4 separate regions of the Homo sapiens genome follow, and all the other regions are linked to region 1. Evidence: promoter capture Hi-C in 16 types of primary human blood cells and fetal thymus (Javierre and others, 2016). All regions are on one chromosome and are shown on one strand. The core of a region is centred on a gene start or on the middle of the fragment in contact, and the rest is flanking DNA. Distances in the headings are between cores, read along the strand shown.

What was found. The method cuts DNA at HindIII sites, captures the fragments that hold promoters and counts their contacts. A CHiCAGO score of 5 or more calls a contact.
Region 2: a fragment that was not itself captured here is called in contact with the fragment with the promoter of BCAP31 in region 1 in 2 of 17 cell types (M0 macrophages and fetal thymus); the score reaches 6.1 in M0 macrophages.
Region 3: a contact is called between a fragment that was not itself captured here and the fragment with the promoter of BCAP31 in region 1, in 1 of 17 cell types (naive B cells). The highest score is 5.5, in naive B cells.
Region 4: a fragment that was not itself captured here is called in contact with the fragment with the promoter of BCAP31 in region 1 in 1 of 17 cell types (M0 macrophages); the score reaches 5.1 in M0 macrophages.

Annotation. Positions count from the first base shown.
Region 1 is chrX:153,718,647-153,725,636 of GRCh38, reverse strand. It overlaps BCAP31 (B cell receptor associated protein 31), which reads left to right and starts at 1,250. Exons shown (of 8, transcript NM_001256447.2): 1 at 1,250-1,303; 2 at 2,349-2,484; 3 at 4,665-4,765. The coding sequence starts at 2,393. It overlaps ABCD1 (ATP binding cassette subfamily D member 1), which reads right to left and starts at 781. Exons shown (of 10, transcript NM_000033.4): 1 at 1-781. The coding sequence starts at 370. RefSeq lists an enhancer at 1-161 and silencers at 622-1,581, 1,792-1,971. The HindIII fragment of the contact is 9,880 bases long and covers 1-3,228 here.
Region 2 is chrX:154,087,712-154,094,701 of GRCh38, reverse strand. All of the region lies in intron 1 of MECP2 (methyl-CpG binding protein 2), which reads left to right. Among named protein-coding and RNA genes, the nearest start is that of MECP2, 6.5 kb to the left of the region's middle. The HindIII fragment of the contact is 6,480 bases long and covers 459-6,938 here.
Region 3 is chrX:154,055,469-154,062,458 of GRCh38, reverse strand. The region is part of intron 1 of MECP2 (methyl-CpG binding protein 2); the gene reads left to right. Among named protein-coding and RNA genes, the nearest start is that of MECP2, 39 kb to the left of the region's middle. The HindIII fragment of the contact is 851 bases long and covers 4,129-4,979 here.
Region 4 is chrX:154,036,415-154,043,404 of GRCh38, reverse strand. All of the region lies in intron 1 of MECP2 (methyl-CpG binding protein 2), which reads left to right. Among named protein-coding and RNA genes, the nearest start is that of MIR718, 20 kb to the right of the region's middle. RefSeq lists enhancers at 1,857-2,357, 6,936-6,990. The HindIII fragment of the contact is 479 bases long and covers 3,053-3,531 here.

The DNA.
Region 1 (6,990 bases), core at 1-2,500:
GGACGATGCAGCGGGCCAGCCTTCCGTCCAGGCGGGCCACATACACCGACAGGAAGGTGCGGCTCACCAAGGCGGCCGAGTGCAGGGCCAGCAGCCCCGTCTCCCGGCACAGGACCCGGGGGAACAGCAGCCGCAGGAGCCACAGGAGCCGCTGCAGGAATACCCGGTTCATGCCAGCTTTGGCCGCCGCGACCCCGGAGGCCTCCTGCGTGGGCTCCCCGGCGGGCGCCTGAAGACCCCTGGCCGGGGCCAGGCACTGGCGCACCAAGGGGTAGACTTTGTGGGCTCCATAGGCCGCGAGGGCCAGGAGCACGGCCGTGCGCTTCAGCGTGTTCCCCCGCCAGGGCCGGGGCCTGGAGAGCACCGGCATGTCACCTGGGCTGGCTGCCGCGTAGGGACTGGGGCTGGTGCCTGGGGCAGCAGTTGAGGCAGGTGGCTGGAAGGATTGTTGCTCTGACCCTGGGCCTGTTGTCTAGGCAACTGGAAACCTTGCGATGGCCCCTGAGACTGTCGCTTTAGGCCCCCGGGGTGGTGCTGGGGCCCCTGGTGCGGTGGGCTCAGGGCCCTCCAGGGTCGCGGCCTCTTCGGGCAGCCCAAGTGGAGGAACTTGGCTCTCCTGTCCTGTCAGTGCCCTGGCCCCTGAGGTCAGGGCCTTGAGAGGTCTCGGGCAGAGGGGGCGTCTCTTCCTCTCCACCTTCTCCTCCTCCTCCTCCCCCGGTGGCGCCCCTCCCCGGGGCACCAGGCGCGTCCGTCCGCTCCGCAGCCTGGCTGAAGCGACAGTGACTCCTCCACCGGCCCAGAATCCCCACCCACTCTTCCCCAGGGGCGAGTCGGGGGAAGGGGAGGAGGCGGAGGAGGGGCGAGGGGCGGAGTCCGGGCGCGGGAGCCCCACCCTGTTCTCGCCCCTCGGCGGGGCCCGCCCACACCCCCACCTCCCGTTCTCGCCCCTCGGCGGGGCCCCTCCCGCACCACAGAGACGTGGGACGGCCGCGCGGACTAGAGAAGCGGCCCTCGCCGGCCCGACAAAGCCCCGCCCCGCCCCGCCCGCGTGCTCGCTCCACCCCGCCCTGCTCGCCCGGAGCCCGAGGCGCCTCTTCCTCTCCCGCTCGGAGCGCCGGCCCTCCGCTCCGGGGCGGGGTGGGAAGCGGAGGTGGGCGGAGCCTCCGGGGCCTCGCGAGGGCTGGTGGGCGGTGCCCGGCGGGCGCTTCCGGTTTCCGGCCGCGGTATGAGGGGCGGGGCCGGGGCTGCTGTGGGAGAGTTCTGTTGCTGCGGCGGGGCCTGCACGTTGACTGTGGGAAACTCGGTGAGCGGGCTCCGCGCGCCGGGCTGGGCTCCGGGACCGCGGAGGCTCCCCGGCCCATCGACGAGGGAGAGAGGCGAGCGGCGCGGGGAGGCCCGGGGGCCGGGGAATCTCGGGGCCCGCAGCCTACCTGCGTGTGAGAGGCAGGGGCGAGGGGAAACCGGGCGGCGCCTCTAGAAGCTGGTCTCGGGGGCGGGGCGGGGGGCGGTGAAGCCCCACCTGGAGGAGCGGCCGGGATGGGCCTCCGGGACGGTGTGCCAGGCCGGGGCCAAGTCGGAGGCCCCTCGCTCTGGGTGGGCGCTGGGGCCCGCGAGGGCTACTGTAAGGACCCCTGGCTTCTGAGGATACTGCGTCTAGAACTTTCTCCGTATGGGGCCTTGAGGTGCTTGGTCGAGACCTGCCTTTGCGCTTGGTCCCGAATCCTGCCCTCTAGGAGTCGCTCTTGCGGGCCTCCAGCCCACCGGAGGCGAAGCGGCCCCGGGCGGAAGGCCGCTGGATCCTCGAGGGAGGTGCCGGTTTCTCTCCGCGGGCGCCGTGGGGACGGTGGGAGGCGGGGGCGTCGGCAGCGCTTGGACTAGGTGCGGCCTTGGGCCTGCCTGGTAGCGGGGATTTGGGCCCGCAGAGCGCCCGCCTCTGCGGCTGAGTTCTGCCTGGCGGGGAAGGGAGCGCCCGATGGGTGCCGAGGCGTCCTCCTCTTGGTGCCCTGGCACTGCTCTTCCCGAAGAACGCCTTTCAGTTAAACGGGCGTCGGAAATCTCGGGCTTCCTGGGGCAGGGATCGTCGGGAGAGGCCGCTCTGGACGTGTTGACACACGTGCTGGAGGGGGCAGGTAATTGACCAGCGAACGGAAGTTTGTGGGGCCTGTGAACGCTGCTGGCCAAGAGGCCCTGCCGAGTGGAGCCCTGCTTCCGCCAGCGCATCAGAGACTTTGAAGCAAAGTGCAGGGGGTCAGGGTGGAGAGTGGCGGCCCCAGCCTCGCAGGGTAACTGAACTGGATGTTCTTGGCTGCCCAGCGCTTACAAGTCCCGTACCTTTTGTGCCCTGCCAGGAAACAAGCTCACATCTTCCTGTGGGAAACCTTCTAGCAACAGGATGAGTCTGCAGTGGACTGCAGTTGCCACCTTCCTCTATGCGGAGGTCTTTGTTGTGTTGCTTCTCTGCATTCCCTTCATTTCTCCTAAAAGGTATGGCCTATGGAGCAAGCAGGCGAGTTAGGCAGGAGGGTGCCTGTGCCCTAGCCCTGGGACTGGTGTGTGCAGCTGGTGGACCCTGGAATTGGGACCCGATGGAACAGGTAGAACCTGTCTGGGGTGGGGGTGGCAGGGGTTGTGTTTGTTATTGCCAACCCTTCCCAGGGTTCTGCTTCGTCATGACTTGCTCAGTTCCTTTTCCTGTGTCCCCTGCCTTCTGGTCTTCAGAATGCCCCCGAGAGGCAGGAAGATCTATGTTACAGTTCTGGAAATGATGCCCTCCCACCCACTCTTGGTCCACGGGGTGCTGGGATGGTAGCGTGGGATTCGGAAGACTTGCACCACTGGGTCACGTTGTTGCTGATTTGGTGACTCTTGTCCTCCTAACTAGTCTCACTGGTATTGCGCAGTGGCTGCATGAACATTACTCAGCCTGTGGAGGATGAAGCCATATTCCCTTTTAATGAACAGAGGACCTGTTAAAAGTGAATTGGAGATTAATTTTAATTATGTATAATACCTGAACACATCCCTATTTAAATTACGATATTACAAATAAGGCCAAATCTCCACAGGTATTTTTAAAAGCCGTTTTTTCGTGAAAAATTATCTTTGATGTGATACCATAGAAAGTATGCAGTGCTGTCTGAGGAGGATTCTTGTAGAAAACCACACCTTCGTACAGTTGACAAGACGTGCAGAGATAGAGGGCCCCGGGGAGCTTTAATCTGGGAAGCTTTAGAGGACAGACAATCTGATTTCTACACAAAGGAAACTGGAAAAGCAAATGAAAGAGGGAGAGGGAAGGGGGAGCTTCCAGAATAAGCTGGATTTAAGACGTTTATCTACCGAATGCCAAATCGGTACCTTGTTGGGTCCGGATTCAAACAAATATCATTGCCTTCAGTGATTGGCATATTCAACTCTAGCCCTGATGATGAGGGCTTCTTGTTGATTTGAACAATATGTAAACACTTCTGAAGTCTCTTCTTAGAGCTGCATCCCAAAGCATTTGTGGATGGAAATGATGTGAGGTCTGGGGTCCATCTCATCATAACAGGGTCGGGGGATATAGACAAACCAAGGTTTATCATGTGGAAAGACAGTTTAAAGAAATAACGTGTATGGGGCAAACATTTGAATATTACAAAGGGGAGTACAATGAAAAGTAAGTTTCCCTTTTCAGAGACTACCAGTATGTTTTCTTTTTGTTGTTGTGGTTTTTTTGTTTGTTTTTGTTTTTATTTTGAGACAGAGTCTTGCTCTGTCACCCAGGCTGGAGTGCAGTGGTGTGGTGCTCGGCTGACAGCAGCCTCCACCTCCCGGGTTCAAGCAATTCTCCTGCCTCAGCCTCACGAGTAGCTGGGACTACAGGTGCCTGCCAACATGCCCAGCTAATTTTTTTTTATATATATATTTTTAGTAGAGATGGGAGTTCACCATGTTGGCCAGGCCGGTCTTGAACTTCTGACCTCAGGTGATCTGCCCATCTCAGCCTCCCAAAGTGCTGGGTTTACAGACGTGAGCCAGTGCGCCCAGCCAACTGCCCACGTTTAAGATTAGTTTTCCAGGCTGGGCGCGGTGGCTTACACCTCTGCACTCCAGCCTGGGCAACAGAGCAAGACTCTGTCTCAAAAAAAAAAAAAAAAGATTAGTTTTCCAGACATTTTGATCTATACGTGGACCAGCATCTTTTTTTTTTTTTTTTTTTGAGACAAGGTCTCGCTCTGTCACCCAGGCTGGAGTGCAGTGGCGCGATCTCGGCTCACTGCAACTTCCGCCTCCCAGGTTCAAGTGATTCTCCTGCCTCACCCTCCTGAGTAGCTGGGATTACAGGTGCCCACCACCACGCCTGGCTAATTTTCGTACTTTTAGTAGAGACAGGGTTTCGCCATGTTGGCCAGTTTGGTCTTGCACTCCTGACCTCAAGTGATCCACCCACCTTGGTCTCCCAAAGTGCTGAGATTACAGGTGTGAGCCATTGCACCTGGCCTTTTTTCCAATAGTCTTGAATGGATGTCAAATTAGAGAATTGCAAGCCACTGAGGCTGACTTTGCATGGGCTATTCGGCCATTGGAGAAGAGTACAAAGCTGGATTTCCATTTTGCTCAGGGCCCTAGAGCTCGTGTGTGTGCTTTCTCTTCAACTCCTGTCCTTTTTGTCTTCTTCACAGATGGCAGAAGATTTTCAAGTCCCGGCTGGTGGAGTTGTTAGTGTCCTATGGCAACACCTTCTTTGTGGTTCTCATTGTCATCCTTGTGCTGTTGGTCATCGGTGAGTGAGCTATGGCTGAGGGCAGCTACCTGACCTAGACCCTGGTCTCTGCTGCAAAACCCTTTGCCACTTTTGATGTGTAGCATCCAGTTTTGGCTGCTAGGAGACAGACCAATGAAATGCTGTGTCTTTCTCTTGAGGGAGGGAAGAGGCTCCCTTTGCCCATGCTGCTGACCGCTAGTCGGTTCTTCACTTTGAGGCCCCTCTAGGCCGTACATGGTGGCTCATGCCTGTAATCCCAGCACTTTGGGAGGCTGAGGTCGGTGGATCACCTGAGATGAGGAGTTCGAGATCAGCCTGGCCAACGTGGTGAAACCCCATCTCTACGAAAAATACAAAATTAGCTGGGCGTGGTGGCGGGCACCTGTAATCCCAGCTACTTGGGAGACTGAGGCAGGAGAATTGCTTGAACCCACGAGGCAGAGGTTGCAGTGAGCCTAAATCGCACCATTGCACTCCAGCCTGGGCAACAAGAGGGAGACTCCATCTCAAAAAAAAAAAAAAGAGGCCCCTCTAGCAGTGGGCGTGGGCTTATACCAAGCAGTTTGTATGCAGCTTATGACGGCCACCTTACATTGCTTTTTTTCAAGACCTTGGAAGGAGGGACGCCTAAGGTTTCTGAGGCTGCTCCTCAGGTCACTCTAGAACTGAAGCCAAGAGAAGCTAACTGGCCTGTGACCTTGGTCTGAGTAGTGCTGCTCACCAGTCACTTAAACAGCAGAATTGCCTGGAGCAGGGCCTCTAATGGGGGACTGAGCAACCAAGCACACAGTGAAGTCCTGCCATTCCCTGTAGTAGTAGGAGGAGAACACAGAGATGTGTGGCAGCATATCTTGGGGAGAGATCCTAGACCTCTCTGCATCTGGGCTAGACTTGAGGTTTTCCCAGGTCGTTCCAGCTCTGTAGTTCTGTAAACTCTGACATTGAGGTGTACACTAGCAGGTGCTTGAAAGATAAACTGGTCCAAGGGCAAGCAGGCTCTGGGATAAGGCCAGGCCAGGTGGTGGTAAGATGAAAGGCAGACATTTTGCAATGAGGTGGTAGGGTGACCATCTGGAGACAAGAATCAATAAAGCTCTTGTCTGACTGGTAGATGTTTGTTGTTTTGCTGTGGTAAGTGATCGATATGTCCCCCTGTTTGGGCTCCAAAGTATTGGCTTGGCTCTGCTGTGGACACCACTCTTGTCTCAGAGCTGTGGTGCCTGCCTAGGCGTGGAACACTCCTCCCACCGAGTCCCAGCAGAAACACTGAGCGGGTGGGGGGCTGTGGTTCAGGGGAATGTGCAAAGCCTCACCCACCAGCTTCAGCATTAGGCATTTCTCCTTCCTGATGTCTCAGAGCCTGATAGGATATGTTCAGGCTGGACTGCCTCTGAACAGGCCAAGTGTTACCTGACAGCTTCCAACCACATAGGGTAGGTGCCAGCTGCCTGAGCACCTCAGTGTTCTTGAAATACTTGGCAAGGCCCCAAGAGGTAGTAGCTCTTTCTAACCAGGGTTCTCGCCCTGAGCAGCCTCCAAGCCAGGAGTAGGTAGGTAATATATGTGTCATCCCCAGGCCACTGAGTTTTTGAACTGAGCATGTGTGTTTTGGCTTTTGGGTCTGGGGTGGGGGTAATAACTGGGGAGGGGAGGGACCATGCTGAGGATGATTCCCTCAGGGTCTTGCCCCTTCCCCAAACCAGAAGGAGTATGTTTCTTTCCTAGAGCAGCTGAGTGGGCTGGAGAGATCCTTTGCGGAATCCAGTAGTTGACAAAGCCTTCATTCTTTTTTGGGATCGGGGAACTGCTTGGAAGTTCTAGGGGGACATATGGCCATGATGACTGGCTGCTTCCTACTCCCATGTTAAGAAGCATAATCTAGAAAGATCTGCAGAGCCTTCTTCAAACAGAAGTGTTAGTCACAGGTACTAGTGAAGGGTAAGGGGCATAACTAGCTAGAGCTGTGGCCTTGCTTGGGGGTGGGGAGGGTTGAGCAGATCCTCCTGGAGGATGGAGTTGCTGAGGGTGCAGGATCTTCCCACCTGGGCTGAGGCCCGAGACAGGGAGGGCTGGTTTCTACTGTGGGACTTGGGTTAGTATTGCTCAGTCCCCCATCCCCACTATTGGTCATTGGCCAAGGTGGTCCTTAGGATGGTGGGGTTCCTGGATGCAGGTGACAGTGTAAGGAAACATGTTTATCTTGTTTTTCTGATTACAAAAATAATGGGTAATTATTCTTAAAA
Region 2 (6,990 bases), core at 2,449-4,948, 370 kb before region 1:
CCCGAGTTATCTTGGAGGAGAGAATCACAGGAAATGTTTGATATTTCTAGTAACCAGTGTTTTCAGTGCGTGGGGTAAAGCACACTCCTAGACTGGCCAGTCCCAAAGAGTGTGGCAGGACACCTGCTTGTTTTCCCTGCCCTCTGCTATGGTGACATCCTTGCAGACCAGTCTTGCGTGGCTGGCAGACGCAATCTTTTTTTCTTGGGTAGAGCATTATCACCGCTGCGATGGAAGGACCTTGTCCTCGGTGCCTCCATACCAGCCCTTTCCAGTGAAACTACTGCTGTCCCGGCAAGCCCCTGTGCGTGTGCATCATTCCGGGTAGGACAAGATGTGAACAGGTCCCTCTTCTTTGGGCTTAAGTAGAAGTTGTGCTCTTCTGCTTTTACCTGTGTGCTCTTCTGCTTTTACCTGTTCTCTTCTGCCTTTCTCTTGCAAGAAACCTGTCGAAAGCTTGCTTTGCATGCCATTGCTTAAATACTTTGATGGTATGTATGGTATGTGGGATAACTGAGTGGGAGCCGGAATTGGGGGGTGGGCAGGGCATCCCCACCCCCACCCCCACATCAAAGGGGGAATGACCATTTCGTTAGAGAATAAAGCCTGAGTCTTATAACTTCTTCAAGCACATGTATGCTGGGTCTCCTGGCGTGTGAATGTGTTCCCGCTGTGCTGTGTGGCTGTTTTGCAGTTACTGTAGACACTGTAGTCTGGGCTCTCATTATTGCCTCTGAAGTTGACAGGACCAAGCCTTAGTAAGGATGCACTTGTCTTCCTAGCCCAAGAGCTAGGGGTGTTTTATATATATATTAACTTTCTTTTTTAGATTTCATAAACTGCTCTCATTTTCTCTTTTCTTTCTTTCTTTTTTTTTTTTTTTTTTTGAGACAGTCTCACTCTGTCACCCATGCTGGAGTGCAGTGGCACGATCTCAGCTCACTGCAACCTCTGCCTCCCGGGCTCAAGCAGTTCTCTGCCTCAGCCTCCCAAGTAGCTGGGATTACAGGCACCTGCCACCACGCCTGGCTAATTTTTGTATTTTTTTTTTTTTTTTTTTTTTTTTTTAGTCGAGACGGGGTTTCACCATCTTGGCCACGCTGGTCTTGAACTCCTGACCTCGTGATCCACCCGCTTCAGCCTCCCAAAGTGCAGGGATTACAGGCGTGAGCCACCGCACCCAGCCTCTGGCTCTTTTCTTTTTGACATGAAATCTTAAGTTAATTATCTTAAACTTTAAGAACTAGAAGGATTCTTAGTCCAGCACCATCAGTTTACAAACAAAAAAAACTTGTGTCCCTGAGAAGTTGTGACTTTTCCAGGGCCTCCTAGCCAGGATACCAGTTTGGTTTTTATTATATAGCTAGCCGAGTAATACTATTAACTTGACTTCTGGGATTTCAAAGTATTCTATGACTTGACTGTTTAAGGGAATTATGAGGCCTCACTGAACCTCAAAAGATAATTTTAGGTACCATCCTGGTAGCTGTAGAGCAGCAACAGACCAGTAAAAGACTTGGTTGGTGTTGCCCTTCTTCTGGGTTTGATTACATGAGTAATTGTGTGAATAGTCTCTAAGTTGTATGCTCTGAGCTTTCGTTTTTAGCTTATAAAAGTGCTACTCTTGGGCCAGCATAGTATCAGAAATTAGCTAATTCATATGGGGCAGTTTAGGCTTTAACTAGGAAATGATGGTTATCTTAATGACAAAAAAGGTACTGACAAAAGTCCTTTTTTGAACATGTGTTCAAAAGAAAAAGAGAAACTATCAAACTAATAACTGAGTTTGTTGAACATCGAGATTGACTGATCTGAGAGGCTTAAAACTGATTGCCCTGAAATAGACTTGCATGTTTTGGATGATGGCTTTGGGTCTCCCAGAGCACTTGGTTTCCCTTGGTGCTGATTTTTTCTCTCAGGATTAAAGCCCCTTTATGTGATGTTGTTACAGCAGCTTATTGCAACTTCATTCAGCTGCTTGAAAAAGAAGGGAGACTGCCTCTAGGTTCCATGTGTTCTTTCAGGGATGGTATTTTGATGTTGCGTATTCTCTTGAACATGTATTCTTCCCTGAGAATTTCTGTGTGCCGTGGTAGAAGAAATACTTGCCAGAAATCGCCACTCATGGTATGCTTTTGTAGTGTCGAAGTGTCCCCTAGAGGTGACAAGGCTTGTGATAGTGTTGATTCTAACAAGCATGAATCTTTCCTTTATTTTAGCACTGTGTGTTACGTGCCAGTAATTTGCAGCTTATCCTTTGTTTCTAGCTAGGTAAGCTGGGAAATAGCCTAGTACTTTGTCTATGTGTTTATCTTCAAAATGTCCCAAATAGCCCTGGGAAAAAGGTCGTGCAGCTCAATGGGGGCTTTCAACTTACAATTTTCTTTGTTTTAGGCTCCATAAAAATACAGACTCACCAGTTCCTGCTTTGATGTGACATGTGACTCCCCAGAATACACCTTGCTTCTGTAGACCAGCTCCAACAGGATTCCATGGTAGCTGGGATGTTAGGGCTCAGGTAAGTAACCTTCCTTTTTTTTTTTTTAGTATATGTCCTGGTTTGGCCATCTGTTTTTTTTTTTTTTAAAAAAAAAAAAAAAAGGAAAAGAGGAAAAAAATATACTACTCTTGGACAGTATAAAAGTACCCCAAAGACTAAAGACATAACTGTGCCAAACTGTGCCATATAATAAAAAAAAGTCACTTCCCTGAGCCCTGAAAGGTCAGTGTGTGTAGGGTTACTTGGTCGCCACAGCGTGATCTGGGGGCGGGCGTCAGATTAGAGCCGGAACTGGTGATCTGCAACTTCAGTTCACCTTGAAGCAGGTCAGCTGAGCTGAGAGCGCTTGCACTGAGCCCTTTTGCGCTGCTGCTGTTGCCTTAGCGGTCTTCAGCATGTGTTTGCTTTGGTTTGGGGTAAATGGCTTAGTGGTCAACATTAGTGAGCAGTGGTAATGCATTTTCAGATATGGGAACTGGTATGTGGTTGGTTCCCTAGAAGGACACCCTCCTGAAAGCTGTCTCAGAACACCGGGGGCCATGGCTAATGTCATGTGCTTGCTACACTCCTCCCATGGTAACTAAAGAGAGTACCCAGATATACATCTGGTTCTTGGGACTCTAGAGGAGGATGAGTACTTTGTAAAAACCTGGGGGCCCCAGTCATTCTAGGTCTGACACTCAGGTGCTGTATCAGCTGCAGTTTGAACTACTTGGCACCATTGTGTGGACTTTAGTTTTGTAAAAATGAATGGTTCCTTAATTTCTCAACCTTCAGGCTCAACATCTCAAGCTGTTTGTTGTTGTTGTTGTTGTTGTTGTTTTGTTTTGTCTTTTTGATTAGTGGTCACTCCGCATTTGATGTTTTGACATGTGGATTTCAGAACTTCTGTGTGGTAAAGCAGAATGTTCCAATTGAATTTTCCCATTTTTTTTCCCCTAAGCAAAAATGTGAGTTTTCACTTATGCGGCCATTGTGATTCCGACTGAGACCCTAAGTCGTTCTTTGTTGTCTCTCTAGTGGTTTCTGACACCTCAGTGTGAAGCTGTTGTAGACATCCATAAGAAATAGCCTGCTTAGGGATTATGTGAGGGCAAGGTTTGGCTGAAGGAGAATAGAAGGTGTGGAAGGAAGCGGAAGACCAGAAGAGCATCACACTGCCTCAAGTCCCAAATTTGATTCTGCTCCTGATCCTGTGACTCAAATTGTCATTCTCTTTTACTGCTGTGGGGTGTGCTCTGGGCCCAGCTGACAGGACATTCTTTGTACTCCACGTATTTATGCTGGTGGGAGTTGTATGGCTAGTGCTTTGTGCTTTGTCTCAGAAATTGTGTGGACTAAATGTAATATGGGCAGTGAATGGGTTTCTTCTGGAAGATGTTAGGCCTGGAGGGTGGTTTGGGTTTTTACGAGTCTTTTTCTCAGATTACAGATTACGAATGGATGTTATAAAACAGGCAGTGTTGACACCATACAGTTTCTCCTAAGAAATGTACAGAGAGTTCAACCTGAGGAAGCTAATTGAAAATAAACTTTTAAAAAGAAATGTAGAAAGAGGAAATTTAAAAAGTATCTTATGAATGGGAAAGATGTAGCCATTTGAGCTTCAAAGAACTTTTGAGGGAATTCTCAAAGGACAGTACCCGTCTTTAGTAGATAAATGCTTGATATCTATTTTTCTTCTTTTACTTTTTAAAGAATTACTAAAATAATACATGGATTTATAGAAAAATCAAACCACTTAAAAATTGATCAGGTGGCTGGGCAAGGTGGCTCATGCCTGTAATCACAGCGCTTTGGGAGGCCTAGGCGGGTGGATCACCTGAAGTCAGGAGTTCGAGACCAGCCTGGCTAACACGGCGAAACCCCATCTCTATTAAAAATACAAAAATTAGCTGGCCATGGTGGCTTGAGCGTGTAGTCCCAGCTACTCGGAAGGCTGAGGCAGGAGAATCACTTGAACCTGGGAGGCGGAGGTTGCAGTGAGCCAAGATCACACCACTGAACTCCTGCCTGGGTGACAGAGTGAGACTCGGTCTCAAAAAAAAAAAAAAAAAAAAGTATCAGGTAAAAAAATGAAAGCTCCCCGCTTAATCTCTGCTCCCACTACCCAGAATAACTGCTGTTAATAGCTTAATGTAGATCCTTCTAAGTCTTCTAAGACTAAACTGTGTACTTTTTGTGTTGTAATTAACAGGAGGGTTTTTGTTTTGTTTTGTTTTTTCTTTTTTTGAGATGGAGTCTTGCTCTGTCATCCAGGCTGGAGTACAGTGGCACAATCTTGGCTCACTGCAACCTCCACCTCCTGGGTTCAAGTGATTCTCCTGCCTCAGCCTCCTGAGTAGCTGGGATTACAGGCGCCTGCCACCACACCCAGCTAATTTTTGTATTTTTAGTAGAGATGGGTTTCACCATGTTGGCCAGGCTGGTGTCGAACTCCTGACCTCAGGCGATCCACCTGCCTTGGCCTCCCAAAGTGCTGGGATTACAGGCGTGAGCCACCGTGCCTGGCCTCAGGATGGTGTTATATATACATATTCTGCATTTTTCCATCTCATATATTCATCTCTGCCTCATTTCTTTTAAATAGCAGTGTAGTCCAGGGCTGACTTACCGTCATGCATTTCGTTGTCTCTCTATGTTATTAAAAATGCTACAGGATTGAAATTCCTCATGTGCCAGTCATTTTGAAGAATGGCTGCCTAGACTTGGAATTTCTGGTGGATACCACCACATCACTGTCCAAAATGGCTATCCCAGTTCCCACAACAGTCTGAGAAAGTGCCATTTTCCCATATCGTCCCAGAATTGGATATACATCTTTTAAATTGGTGCCGCTTGGATTATTACTGAGGCTAAACCTCAATAATCATTGTCATAGCTCTTAATGTATTAAAGATGTTAACTCTTTGTCATGCAGATATTTTCCTGTTTTGTCTTACGTCTTGATTCTTGTCTTTCTGATATATAAAATTTATGTTATGATTTATTCTTTTGCTTTCATACTTAGGAAATCCTTTTTTACTCTTTTTTTTTTTTTTTTTTTTTTTTTTGAGACGGAGTCTCGCTCTGTCGCCCAGGTTGGAGTGCAATGGCGTGATCTTGGCTCACTGCAAGCTCCATCTCCCGGGTTCATTCCATTCTCCTGCCTCAGCCTCCCGAGTAGCTGGGACTACAGGCGCCCGCCACCACGCCTGGCTAATTTTTTTGTATTTGTGAGACAGGGTTTCACCATGTTAGCCAGGCTGGTCTCGATCTCCTGACCTTGTGATCCGCCCGTCTCTGCCTCCCAAAGTGCTGGGATTACAGGCGTGAGCCACCGCGCCCCGCCAGGAAATCCTTTCCTACTCTTAACAACAGATCAATAGTCATCTATATTTTCTTCCTAAAAAACCTGATGATGTATTATATTCATACATACGTATTTAATACATACAAAAGGGCCAGATGCGGTGGCTCATGCCTGTAATCCCAGCACTTTGGGAGGCTGAGGCGGGTGGATCACCTGAGGTCAAGAGTTCAAGACCAGCCTGGCCAAGATGGTGAAATCCCGTCTCTACTAAAAATACAAAAATTAGCCAGGCGTGGTGGCGGGCACCTGTAATCTCAACTACTGGGGTGACTGAGGCAGGAGAATCGCTTGAACCCAGGAGGCAGAAGTTTCGGTGAGCCAAGATCACGCCACTGCACTCCTGCCTGGGCGATAGAGTGAGGCTCTGTCTCAAAAATAAAAAATAAAAATAATAATTTTATAGTTAAGTTGCCCTGTGTTTTTCCTGTGATTAAAAAAAAAAATACCTGTTTTGTATTTAACTTTGGGGTGGGATAAGGTATAGCCCACTTAGTCAGTTGTGTCTAAGCCACTTGATGAACCAGTCAATCCAGTCTTCACCTTTAACAAATGCTGATTTCTTCAAGTGAGCAAAATATCTCTTAAACTTTTTCCTATTTTCTCTATAAAGTTGCTTTTTTCTGAATTTTTTCTTTATGAGGCTTGATGGGCAGCCCTATCAGCAGACAATCATTCATTCACCCAACAAATATTTGAGTATCTGCTTCAAGCCAGGGGCAGTGCTAAGCCCTGGAAGTGGTATCTTCTCCTTATCCGGGAGTGGGGCTACAGTGTTCATTCCAGAAGACTCAAGAAAATAGCAGATCATCACAAAAGTAGGTTTTACATAAATGAGGAGGAATCCACAGGGTTGTGTATATGTGTGTGTATTTTAAATTCTGACATAAGTTGGAGCTTTAGGGTAGACTGTGACATAAGAGTAGTTTGTTTTCCAACTCATGTAATTGCCGGCTGATTTTTGTCTTGAATTATGATAATGGTAACTTCTGTTGAAACAATTCTGTATTCATCTTAGCTTGGTTGGGATGCAATAAAAGTTTTGTACTGGTAAAAATGATAATTTTCTTCCATGATGATTTTGAAGCTTTTCTGTAACACCTGATAAAAATAGAGGGGCCAGGCATGGTGGCTCATGCCT
Region 3 (6,990 bases), core at 3,305-5,804, 330 kb before region 1:
TCCTTTTCCTTTTCACTGCCTCTAATACCCAACTCCAATACTCCTTTGACCTCACAGGCACTTAGAATCCATCAGTGGCTCCATCTTTTCTCAGACTTCACCTCCTTCGTATCCTTATTCCTCTCCTTTGTAGCTTCAGTGCCAGTCAGACGTCGTTACTCCCTGGCACACTACCTCAGCCCTTCGGCACTTTCTTGCTTTGTTATATTCAGTCGACAAAGCCCCAGCCTCATGAAATTCAGTCATGTCTGCCCCATGCCTGCTCCGTCCTGAAGCTGAATGTGACTCCTTCATTGATTCCCCCTTTAAGTTCATGTCTACCCCAGGTAAACTTCTTGCCGCCAAGCCCACCTGCATACTGCAGTTCCCCGGTCTCTCCTAGCCCCTCCCACCCTCCTCATCAGCTGTCACACCTCCTTGCAGCTGATATCTTAGTTCCCAGAGAGCACAGAAGCAAGCTCAAGAGAGTGTCTACAGGCCAGCGTCTACTCCTTCGCTCTGCCTCCCTCATGCTGTCACGGAGCGCCTGTCCCAGGCCCTCACTCCTGTTCTAAGGCATCTCTCCAGTCCTCTACTGCACTCTCCCCCATCAGAGATTCCTCCCTCGCCTGCCCTAGAAACTTGTTGCTACTTCTCCCACCTTGACAAAAGCTGCTCCCAACCCCCCACCTGTCTAGCATCTCTGTTTTCCTTTACCAGCAAGACTCCAGTCCCTGTCTCCACACCCTCTTCAACCTTCTCCAGTTGTTCCTTTGCTGCCACAGCTCTGCCAAGCTGCTCCATGAGGTCTCCAGTGATGACCTTCATGTTGTTAAATCTGGGAGCTGCTTGTCACTTCTTTTCCCAGAGCTGTCGTCGTCAGTTAACCCCAATACCCATACGAGACAATCCTTTCCCTCCCTTGAGTCTCTGCACTGATGTGCACCTTCTCAGTGCAAACCACAGCTTTTGTCTCTTTCTAGCTGAATACATGACTGACTGTGCTTATCTTAGCTGTCACCCCTGCTGGAGCAGAAGCTCCACAGGACAGGATTGTCTCCTTGATTCACAGATGTAGCTCAAGCTCCTAGAACAGTGCCTGGTGTCTGTGGGTCCTCAGGAAGTCCTAGGTGAGTGTGTGAATGTCTGTCCTCCTCGGTCTTTTCTGTTTCGCATGTGATGTTGGAAGGCCTCAGGTTCAGGCTTTTCTTCTCCACCCTCACTCCCGAAGTGATTCCGTCCAGCCTCATGGCTCCCAAATTTATGTCTCCAGGCTGACTGGGTCACGGGAACTCCTTATCCTCCCTAGACCTTCTCTTTCCCTGGTCTTCTCCTTTCCAGTAAACAGCAACTCCAACTCCTGCTCCTCAGGCCAGAAACCTGGCGCTGGTTACCTCATTTGTTCACAAATACTGTTACTCCACCTGCAAGATGGATACAAAATCTCATGAGTTCCCCTGCCTCCATGGCCCCCACCCTGGTCCAGGTGTCCAGCTTCCCTGCCTCTGCCCTTGCCCCCTGGTTCTTTGTTTAGTCCTGCAATATTGTGCTCTTCTGTTCAGAACCCTCCAGTGGGTCCCTGCTTGCTCAGAGTCACAGCCCAACAGGATCACCTCTCTTGCCACTCTCCCACCACTCATGCACTGCGGCCTCACTGGCCTCCTGGCTCCTCCCTGGACCCTCCAAGTATGCCCCTGCCTCAAGGCCTTGACCTCTCCTCTGCCCTCTGTCCCAGGTATCACACATGTCTGCTCAAGTGTCACCTTCCCAATGTGGCCTTCCCCGAGCACACCCATGTCTGTAAGTCAGGCAGCCTGCCTCTGCCCCACCAGTTCCCCCTGCCTAGCATAGGACTTGTCACCATCTGCCACAAGCTGTGTTACTGCTTGGTTTTGTTTGTGCTCTCCCACTCCCTTCCCCTCCCTCCCTCTCCCCACCCCTATAGAATCTGAGTCCCATGAGGACAGAGATTTTTTTTTTTGCCTCTTCCTCAATATATCCCCAGTGCCTAGAATCATGCATATTTTAATTTATTGAGTGAATTAACAAATAAATTCTGCAGTGGGACATTGCTCTAAGGTTTTGTCTTATAAGAGGGACAGAAGAACATGCAGCCTGCTCTGCTGTTGGCTCCTTAGCTTCTCCATGGCTAACAGGAACAATATTGTTTATGAGATAATCAAAGCCATAGTCATGAGTTAGAAGGTACATATAAAGGCAAATATGTGGAGATTGAGTTACTTTGGCGGGGGCGGAGGGGTGTGTAGTTATCTGAAAACATGGAACAAATCAATGAGAGTCTAAATAGCACCCACATATTTGCCCCTCTTTTAAAACATACCTCCTTTATGAGTGTAGAATTTAACAGCACAGTTTCCCAGTGCAGCTTTGCGAAACAAGAGAAATGAATTTTAAAGGCTGTCAGGTGCCTTTGCAATCTGTGGCTTAGTATTTGTGTAACAACATTTGTGTTTTGCCAACAGATGTACTGCTTAAAGTACCCATGAGAATGGCCTCTGTGGTTTTCTACTTTCTCGGATGGAACCTTAGGAACTGATTATTGAGAAGAGGCTGATACTGCCCACCTCAGCTCCCAGGCAGGCTTCAGGGCCTTGGTTACTACTCCTTTGGGCCCTCACTGACCCTTGCAGACGTCTTTTGCAACCTCTGTAGCCAGAAGAGACAACTGCTTTCTGGCATGTTGCTCTTTCCCTAATGGCTTTATGAGCTTCTTGAACACCAAAGCATGTGTGACTTCCTCACGCCTTCCCCTGTATAGTATAGCACCCCTAACTGTATGTGTAAGGAGAAGGAGTGAGCAATTGATGGCGTCCCCCTGGATCTCCAAGGGAATGGGAAGGGGCAGGGTTTCTGGATTCAGTCATGTGGAATCTGGTCGTTGGTGTCTAAATGTGCCTGTTACTTGTGCCCAATGTCCAGGTTCACCAGGAGGCTTAGCCTGCTCATTTCCCTGCTAGTAGCTATATTTTGGGAGAGCATTTTTTATGCTCTAATTGAACTTTGTGGGTCTCAGCAATTTGAACAATGTTTTGTTTTTCTTCTGGTCAGGTTACAAAGGAAAGAAAAGGAATCTGGTGTTGTAGGAGGTGGTGTGTTGTGTAATTACTTGTTTTTTTTTTTTAAGTTTTTTTATATTTTTGCAACAAGGCAAGTTTTCTTTGAATAAATAATGCTGGGAGCTTATCACATAGAAGGCATATGTGTTGTACTCAGTACATTCTGAATTATCTGGGTTTATTTTTATCTCTTGAATTCACTTATAAACAATTCAAAGGCTGCTTTTTTAGCTAACAGAAATAGGAAGAGAATCTCAGAATCTGTTTTGTCATTTTTTCAATGGGTTGAGTTATAGTGATTATGCTAACTCGGTGGAAAAGCAGTGTAGTGAGTAAACCCCACATACGGCATATCATGAACATTTTGTTGCTTTTTTGGCTTCTGACCATCTTCATACCTTTTTTTGTGTTAAAAGTCTCCCCATTGTGTATATCTTAGTAAGAGGCAGGTGGACCCTAGTTTCTACCTAAGAAAACCTGAAGATGGGGTTGGGGGCCTGTGGTGTACTTCCTTCTCATGCTGTCCATGACCACTGCAGTGGCTTTGTAAGGATCCAGGACCCAGGGCCCCTCAGTGGGTGTCTTCCATTTCTCAAGATTGCCTCTTGGTTGTGAGATGACGGTTGCTGCTCTAGTCATTGCATCCACTCCTCCAGGTAGGAAGAAAGAGGTCATAGGGGAAAGGCAAAATGGCACTTGACATCTTAACTTCTAGGCCCATTCAATATTTCCATTTCCATCTTCACACCCATCATCTTGTCCTAGGGAACAAACAGCACCAGCAGCTCAGTAGCTATAACAGCAATTATTATTTCTCACACATGGGTCTGGGTCAGCTGCAAGATGGGATTCAGATCTGTTCTCAAGCCTGTCGTTCCAGGACCCAGGAGGGAGAAGCAGCTGCCAGGGGAAGTCTCTTCGTAGGCGGAGGTCAGGAGTCCAAGAGGAGTGAGCAGAGTCACAGAAGCCTCTTAAAGCCTCTTCTTCCCCCATCCCATCAACACGTGAGCAAGCCCAGAGTCAGTGGGTGGGAGGTGTGCTCCGCCCATAGTCAGTAGAACAAGAGCAAGCTTGAAAGAGAACGATGAACAGGAGTGCACTCGGCCACTGTCTCCTTAGCCATAACGTAGTCCCATGGTCTGCTGGGAAGCGGGGAATAACTCTCCTTAGCTGAGCGCAGGGTCTCATTAGTAAGGCAGATGGAGAACATGGATGTTGGGGGACAACTGGCAGTGCCTGCCACAGGGGAATGGATATATTCCCTCCCCTTGCTCTCTGGAAACTAGGGGATGGCGATGAAGCCTAGGTTTGGCCAAACCCATTCTGCCTTCAGGGACTTTGACTCTTGAGGGACAGTGAGGGATTAGTCATGGTGGTGGCAGTTGAGTCACAAAACCAGCAGTGGTGGCTAATGTCCAGTGATGACATGCAACAGTGCCCAGGGTGGGTGTCCCAACCAGCAGGTCCCTGCAGTATAACCTTGGCTGTGTTTGCAGTGGTGCAGCCTCTATTCCTGCTGCTTTTCTGAGCCTAGTTCTCTAGTTCTCTCTCCATTTCCAGATCTGCTGCCCAAGAACTCCTTTGTGATTGAATTTAACCAGAGTTGATTTCTGTTGCTTGAAACTCAGGACCTTGATGCAGTGTGCAGGGTCTGGGCAAGGTAAAAACACACTTTCATGATTTCGCCTCAAGTATAGTAGATGAGCTTAGGCTTTTTGAGCCAGGTAGCCTTGGGATTAATTCTCAGCTCTTGCACCTAGCAGGTGACCTCAGCAATCAAGTCACTTGCCCTCCTTGAGCCTCAGTGTTGCCCTCAGTTAAACATTGCTCTCGTGTGTTGCTGAGCATTCAGTGAGATTGTATATAAAGTGATCATTGTGAAGGTATTGGGACATAATTTGGGAAAGCGTCCTGGTCTAAGCTTTTGATTGGCTCTCCATCATTTGGGTAATGGGATAGTGATTTAGGAGTATCATAGCAGCTCAAGGGGCCCTTCTGGAAAGGGTATGAGGAAGGTCAGGGACAAGTCTGAAATGAATCATCCTAGGCTTAATGCCTGTGACTGGGCAGTGGGTACAATTATCTCAGGCTAGTCAGTAGTCATTTATTGTGAGAATACATGGGCAGATTTTTTAATTTCCTTCTCAGTCTAGACTTGAATGCAAACAGTTCTTATTGCTAACTTACCACTAGTCACCACTAATGAACAAAGACTATGAACAGGAAATTCATAAAAGAAGAGATACAGATGGCCAATGAAGATAGGAAAAGAGTTCTGCCTGCTGGTAATCAAAGAGATGCAAACGAGAACAAAAATGATGCCTTTTCACCTACCAAATTTGTCAAGATTAAAAAGAAAGCAAAGAGCCAGCGTCAGCTGATGTTCATACCTGCACCTGCTCGGTAGCTTGCTAATGTTCTGCCTGCTCCACACGCCAGGCCAGCCTCCACGGCGCAGCCAGGTGAGGCCTTTCCTTGTATACAGGCACGTTTGGATTCACTGTTGCATAAGTGAGACATGTGCATGCTTCACAATTCAGGAAGTGCAAACTCCAGAGTGATGCAAGGTCTGAGTGTCCCTGCTGCCCTGGTCTCCCAGCTGCCTAGGCCTCTCTTCAGGGAACGGCTGCATCCAGGGTCTTGTCTGTGTCTTTTGAGGTGTTCTATGTACACGCAGACACATCTAAACCTATTTTTATTTTCCCTGCACCTGCTTGGGCTACTGTAAGCTGTTAAATTTTTTTTTCTAGGAATTTGTCCATTTTGTCTGACTAGCATAAAGTTGTTCATGTTATAGTTTATACATTTGCAACATCTGTAATTATGTCTGCTTTTTCATTCCTAGTGTTTGTTGTTTACTTGTACCTTCTCCCGTTTTTCCTTGTCTTGGTAAAAGCTCATTAGGTTCATTGGTCTTACAAGAAGCAGACATGTAGGCATTATTGCCCTGTATTACTCTGTGTCTCTTTTCTAGTTCATTAAATTCTGCTTTTGCTTTTATCTTTATTATTTTTTCTATGGTCTTAGAGTACATTCTCTGTGTTTTGTTGTTGTTGTTGTTGTTGTTTGTTTTTTGTTTTGAGAGAGAGAGTCTTGCTCTGTCGCCCAGGCTGGAGTGCAGTAGTGCAATCTCAGCTCACTGCAACCTCCACCTCCTGGGTTCAAGTGATTCTCGTGCCTCAACCTCCCGAGTAGCTGAGATTTACAGGCATTTGCCCCACACCCGGCAAATTTTTTGTATTTTTAGTAGAGATGGGGTTTTGGCATGTTGACCAGGCGGGTCTCGAACTGCTGACGCCAGGTGCTCCACCCGCCTTGGCCTCCCAAAGTGCTGGGATTACAGGCATGAGCCACCACGCCTGGCCCTAACTTCTTAAGTTATAAATTTGGTTCATTGATTTTTCTACCCTTTTTTCAAATGTAAACATTTAAGGCTAACCCTCTGGAACTACTTCAACTGTATCTAGCAAGTTCTGATAGTATTGTCACTTTAAGTTAGCCCAAAGATATTTTAAATTTTCTTTGTTTCTTCCTTTGACTCACATATTATTTTAAAATGTGTTTTTCAATTTCCAAGCACATGGCTTTGGGTTTGTTTTTTTTTTTTCCTAGTTGCTCTAGAAAAAAAAATTGACTGCATGAGGTGGCTCATGCCTGTAATCCCAGCACTTTGGGAGGCCGAGGCGGGCAGATCACCTGAGGTCAGGAGTTCGAGACCAGCCTGGCCAACATGCCAAAACCTCGTCTCTACTAAAAATACAAAATTAGCCGGGCATGGTGGCACACACCTGTAGTTCCAGCTACTCGGGAGGCTGAGGCAGGAGAATCACTTGAACCGGGAGGCAGTGGTCACAGTGAGCCAAGATTGTGCCAGTGTACTCCAGCCTGGGCAACAAGAGCAATACTCCGTCTCAAAAAAAAAAAAGAAAAAAAG
Region 4 (6,990 bases), core at 2,043-4,542, 320 kb before region 1:
TAGATATAATTCACATACCATGAAATTTACTCATTTAAAGTGTACAATTCATTCTTCAGTATAATTCATAGGCTCACAGAAAAAATTGTTTAAAAATAAAATGTGCAATTCAGTGTCTTTTAGTACATTCACAGAGTTGTGCAACCATCGCCTCTGTGTCATTCCAGAACACTTTCAGCACCCAAAAGAAACCCCAGACACAGGAGCAGTCACCTCTTATTACCCGCAGCCCCTGGCAACAACTCATCCACTTCCTGTCTCTATGGATTTGCCTATTCTGGACATTTCCTATAAATGGAATTATGCACTATTTGGCCTTTTGTGTCTGGCCTCTTTCACTGAGCGTAATGTCCTCAAGGTTCATCTGCATTGTAGCATGTGTCAGAATTTCTTTCCTTTTTGAGGCTGAATGATATTATATCCTATAGATAATGAGGTTTTGATTATCCACCCATCCCTTGGGAATGCATATTTGGGTTGCCCCCACCATTTGGCTGTTGTAAACTGTGCTGCCATGAACACTGGTGTACGGATATCTGTTTGGTTACTGGTTTTGGTTTTTTGTTTGTTTGTTTTGGTTTTTTGAGACAAGGTCTTGCTCTGTCGCCCAGGCTGGATTACAGTGGCACGATCTCTGCTCACTGCAACCTCCACCTCCCAGGTTCAAGCAATTCTCCTGCCTCAGTCTCCTGAGTAGCTGGGACTACAGGTAGCACTCACCACCATGCCCGGCTAAATTTTTTTGTATTTTTAGTAGAGACAAGGTTTCGCCATATTGGCCAGGCTGGTCTCAAACTCCTGACCTCAGGTGATCCACCCACCTCAGCCTCCCAAAGTGCTGGGATTACAGACGTGAGCCACCGCACCCGGCATAGTTGTGGCTTTTTGAGAGTGTATGGCTAGGAGTAAAATTGCCAGGTCATATGGTAACTCCATGTTTAACATTTGAGAAACTGCCAAACTGTTCTCCACAGCAGGAATTTTTTAACCTGTATGTGGTGGGCTTGTGTTTCGGTTTTCATTTTACACATCTATAAAGATGAGATTTGCTGTATGGCACTGGTTGCCTGTATTTGGGGAGGGTTCTGCTTTTGGTTGGCAAGAACTGCATTTTATTTAAGCTTAGCAAAACATAACTGGTTTCTCGCATCTTCTCAAAAGTGGAGGATTAAGAAATGGACTGCGAATTCAGAGCAGGGCAGCTGAACCTCAGGCTCCACCCTTGTAGCCTTCAAGCTGAACCTCATTCTCTCTTGCTCCCTGGAGACCACTGAGACACTCTGCCTGTGCCAGTTTGATTTCTCACATTTTTAAAGGGCCAAAGCTTGTGTCTCAAAGTGCTATAGCCTTTATTGATTCATGCAGAGAAGCCTCCTTGATTCCGTAATTCTGCAGCTAATACTGGAAGTAGAAAGAATTGGAAACACCATCTGGATGACACTTTAGGGTGGAAGCAGCCAGTACAAGGGGGGGCTCATTATTTCCTCTGGTCCCAGACTGTTCACCTGGAGCTGTAGCCACCACCCTGCCCTTAGGTTAACTGCCTCGAGTGGTAGTTTAGCTCTTTGTGCTGTGCCGAGGGATAACTGGAAGTGAAAGGTGCTGAGAAATGCCATCTCCTGAAAGTGGCGAGCATGAGTGAATTTACGAAAGGTTGGGATATTGCTGGGGCTCTGGAAGTTTCTCTGGAGCTCACTCCAGGGGACAGGGAGGGGGCTGGATTCCAATTCAAGTGAAAAATACCTTTCATCTGCCTTGTTCACCTGGCTTTTTTGCCTTTTTGTAAAATCTGAAAACCTCAGGGATTGAGTAGTCTTTCCTTAACTGCAGTTGCCTGTCTGGCCACACCTGCCAGCTGTTGCTTGTACCCCTGTAATTTGCACGGCCTTCCGGGCCTTTCTCACAAGATCACTGCAGGTCACATTCATGAGGAAAATGCAGGCAGTTCCTGCCATCAGACCCCTCAGGATGTCATGGTTTGGCCTGAAAACAAGATTCCTGCAACTCTAATTTTCCTTTGCTAGATCAAATGAAGGATTTGATCTAATGTTTGCATTCTAGCAGCAAAATCATTGAATATTTTATTTCTTAAGAGCCTTACTTCATATTTTGTAGGTATTTTAAGATTTTGTAAAGGCCTTTCTGCTTCAACGTGTGATGTGTGCATTCTTAGAAAAAGATCTTGTGTTCTGTAAATCACACAATAAAAACATGAGTTCGTGCAGGAAAAACTGGGGCGGGGTGGATCACTCCAAACTTGTGTGGTGTGGTAACTGGAGCTCACTGATGAAACCATGAACAGTTCTGGCTGAAAGAACCCCACAGTACACTGAGGTCTGTTGGCATCGCCGCCAGCACCGCCCCGGTCCCTTTGTGCGCGCCACCACACCTGGCTAATTTTTTATTTTTAGTAGAGAGGGGGTTTCACCATGTTGGTCAGGATGGCCTCGAACTGACCTCGTGATCCGCCCACCTCAGCCTCCCAAAGTGCTGGGATTACAGGTGTGAGCCTCCGTGCCCAGCCTTCAGCTTTTTTTCTTAATGTCTTTGTGTAATATGAAGGCATTCTCTTTAATTGTTAAAAAGCTTGCCTACCACTGCTTCAAAATATTACTGTCAGTTGGCATAGCTTCTGATTATATTGATGTCATCTCCCTTCTTTTAAACATGTTACCATATTGGCACTGTATTTCCCCTAGCCCATTGATCACTTGAGAGTTAGTCATAGTCCTCGTGCTGTTTCACTCCTAAACGTTTAAGCATGCCTTTCCTAAGAGCAGACAGTACAGTTAAGACACTCAGGAAGTTTAGCAATGAGCTAACACAGAACCTTACATTTCTCCACATACCCCATAAATGCCTTTTTTAGAGCCTTTGAGCCTGGAATGCAGAGTCCAGGACTGTGTGTTGTATTCGATTGTGTCATCCCTTCAGTCTCCTTTATCAGAAATGTTCCCCCACCCCCTTGTTTTCTCTCATCATCTTGAGTCCAGACCGTGGTTGCATGGCACGCCCTCTCTGGACTCTTCCTGCTGTCTCCTCACGGTAAGCTTCAGTCTCCTACTCGTGATGCTGGTTCATCTCAGCAGCACTGAGGGGCCTGAGCTCAGTTTGGTCGTGTGTTAAGGTGGTGCCTGCCAGATTTCTCCACAGAAAAGGGCCCCGTACTTTTATTTGCTCTTCAGCCTGTGTATTCCTTCCTTTCTTGCCAGCTTGTGGGTGGCTTCTCTAGCAGCTTCTGTAAGATACTCAGTTTGGCAGTTGTAGTTGTTTCAGCAGGAGAGGTGTCTGCATACCTGACCACCACATGGCTAGAAGTCGATCCATCCTCTGGCGTAACCATCCTCCATGCTACTGTCCCTGGGGCACTGAGGCCCTCCTCAGTGACTTCCTCCACCTCATCTTCCGCCATCTCCAAGCCACCAGTGTCCAACGGACTACTGATATGTCCCAAACTCATCATTTGTTTATTCACCAATTCAGAGCCCACCTTTTTTTCAGCACTGAGCTAGCCTCTCCTTGCTAGAAGCTTACGGTCGAAGGTCTCCAGCCATCAGAAGAAGCACGTGGAGCGCTGCGTCCGTGTTGTGGTTATTCATCCAGCATGTGTTGAGTAAGGGTTGCACCTGTGCCTGGCATTATGCATTGAGCGGGGAGATGGGGGTTGGCACGCACAGTGGGGTGTTCTAAGTACACTGAGGGCTCGGGTGCCCTGGCTCATAGAGCAGGGAGGGAGGCAGGAGCAGGGAAGGTGTCTCAGAAGTGCCATCTTTTTTTTTTTTTTTTTGGGAAGTGGAATCTTGTTCTATCGCCTGGTCTGGAGTGCAATGGCACTATCTCAACTCACTGCAGCCTCCGCCTCCCAGGTTCAAGCGATTCTCATGCCTCAGTCCCCGAGTAGCTGGGACCACAGGCGCACACCACCACACCCGGCAAATATTTTGTATTTTTAGTAGAGGCGGAGTTTTGCCATGTTGGCCAGGCTGGTCTTAAACTCCTGGCCTCAAGTGATCTGCTCACCTCGGCCTCCTAAGGTGTTGGGATTACAGGCATGAGCCACTGCGCCCGGTCTAGAAGTGCCATCCTAACTGAACCTGAAAGATGAAAGTTCTCCAGATGAACCTGAAAGTTCTCCAAATGAAAAGGTGGGAGGGGGTGACAGGGTTAGGCCCAGAGCCTCTGGTGACACAGGGTGGGCATCATTGGTCACTTTTTCCTCGAGGGAGGGGCGTCACACGGGTGATAGGGTGGGAGCTATAACCATGTTGATAGTGCCGCCTCTGCCCATCTGGCCTGGCATGCCCTGAGCCCTCTGTCCCACCTGTGGAACTCATAAGCCCTGACAGCCCACTCACTCCTGATTCATTATCCACACCCCTGTGCTTCCGCTGTGCCTGGAGCAAGCTTTCTTCAGGGGGAAGGGAGGCTGGAACTATGTTGTAGTTACCTATTTGTCCTCCCTTCCAAACTGTGAGTTCTTGGAGGTGGAAGGATGCTGCAGGATCTGGCTCAGGACGAAGGCAGTTGGTGAACAGACACGTGTGTTTTTGACTCACGGTGATCTCAGACAAGTTCCTCTGTCTAGTCGAACTTCTTTTTTTCCATCTGTAACACTCAGGAGTTGAATAGGTGGTTTTTCTGAGGATACTTCAACTGTAAAATGTATGAACTTGTGAACTAGCTATTTAGTTCTCCTCATAATCAAGATTGTGTGTGTGTGGGGGGTTCTGATTAGAGGGAGGATGAAGAGAGGTGTATGGGGTTTTTTTTGTTTTGTTTTCTGTTTGTTTGTTTGTTTTTGAGATGGAGTCTCACTCTGTCACCCAGGCTGGAGTGCAGTGGCACGATTTCGGTTCACTGCAACCTCTGCCTCCTGGGTTCAAGTGATTCTCCTGCCTCAGCCTCCTGAGTAACTGGGATTACAGGCATGCACCACCATGCCCAGCTAATTTTTGTATTTTTAATAGAGATGGGGTTTTCGCCATGTTGGCCAGGCTGGTCTCGAACTCCTGACCTCAGGTGATCCACCTGCCTCGGCCTCCCAAAGTGCTGGGATTATAGGCATGAGCCACCACACCTGGCAGGTTTCTTTGAAAAAGTTTGTGTTTCGGCAAACACCATAAACCCCCTGGGGGACAGCCTTGGGGAGTCACCTGGCACCCTAGCCCAGCCTCCCTCCCTTGGGTCCTGCAGTGAAGGCTTAGTGAGGGTGTGCAAATGCCCAGGTCACCCTGGGACTGGGCAGGCCCTCTGGGCTAAGGGTAAACTCATTTGGAATACCTGTTTTCTATCATTGTTTTTTATTTGTTAAATTTAAAGGGTACAAGTGCAGTTTTGTTGCGTGGATATATTGTATAGTAGTGAAGTCTGAGCTTTCAGTGTAACCATCACCTGAATAGTGGACATTGTACCCGTTAAGTAATGTCTCATCCCTCACCCCCTCCCACCCTTCCCAGTCTCTCCAGTGTCTGCCATTCCTCACTCTGTCCATGTGCACATGCTATTCAGCTCCTGCTTCTAAGTGAGAACGTACGGTATTTGACTTTCTGTGTCTGAGCTGTGTCACTGAAGACAATGGACTCCAGCTCCATCCACGTTTTTTATCATTTTTACCTGCACTCCACACCCAGCACAATCCAGGCTTCTTTGTGGGTTTTTTGAAATTTGTCTTTAATTATAAAAGTAGCAGCCAGCAAATTAACAAACACCCATGTGCCTTTCATTGCACAGAATTGAAAATCATCATACTATATTTGCTTCAAGTAATTTCCATTAGAAAGAACTAGAATATTACAGTAGAGTTAAAGACCCTTTATTTCCCATCTTCAGTGCTCTTAAAAGTTCATTTAGGGCCAGGCATGGTGGCTCACACCTATAATCCCAGCACTTTGAGAGGCCCAGGTGGGTGGATCACCTGAGGTCAGGAGTTCAAGACCAGCCTGGCCAACATGGCGAAACCCCATCTCTACTAAAAATACAAAAATTAGCTGGGCGTGGTGGTGCGCATCTGTAATCTCAGCTACTCGGGAGGCTGAGGCAGGAGAATCGCTTGAACTCAGGAGGGAGGCAGAGCCTGTATGCAGTAAGCCGAGATTGCGCCACCACACCCCAGCATGGGTGACAGAGCAAGACTCCGTCTCAAAAAAAAAAAAAAAAAAGTTCATTCATTGTACACTTAGAAATAGTTAAAAAGGTAAACTTTGTTTTGTGTGTGTGTGTATATATATATATATATATATATATATATATATATATATATATGTATTTTTTTTTGAGACATATATGTGTCTGGTTTGTTCGCCCAGGCAGGAGTGCAGTGGCATGATCAACGGCTCACTGCAGCCTCAACTTCCTAGGCTCAAGTGATCCTCCTGCCTCAGCCTCCCGAGTAGCTAGGATTACAGGCACACACCACCATGCCCAGCTAATTTTTTTTTTTTTTTTTTTTTTTTGTAGAGACAGGGTTTTGCTATGTTGCCCAGGCTGGTCTCAAACTCCTGAGCTCAAGCGATCCACCTGCCTCACCTCCCAAAGTGCTGGGATTACAAGTGTAAGCCACCACACCTGACCTGTTTTGTATATTTTACCACAATAAAAAGCCTTTAAAACCCCAAGCAGACAGTTCATTTTCATTCAGGCCCAACTCAGAATCTGATCACAGCGGGGTTTCCCCCCTTTCTAGCGAGTAGCTGAAGAACTGTTTTCTCTCCTTGATGGTATAACTGTCTCTGTGGGTGTTGCTCCCCTGCCGCTCCAGTGGTTTTGTTTTTGTTTTTGTTTTTTTGAGACGGAGTCTTGCGATCTCAGCTCACTGCGACCTCTGCCTCCTGGGTTCAGGCGATTCTTCTCCCTCAGCCTTCCATGTAGCTGGGACTTACAGGCACCTGCCACCACGCCCGGCTCATTTTTGTATTTTTAGTAGAGACGGAGTTTCACCATGTTGGCCAGGTTGGGCTCGAACTCCAGACCTCAGGTGATCCACCTGCCTCA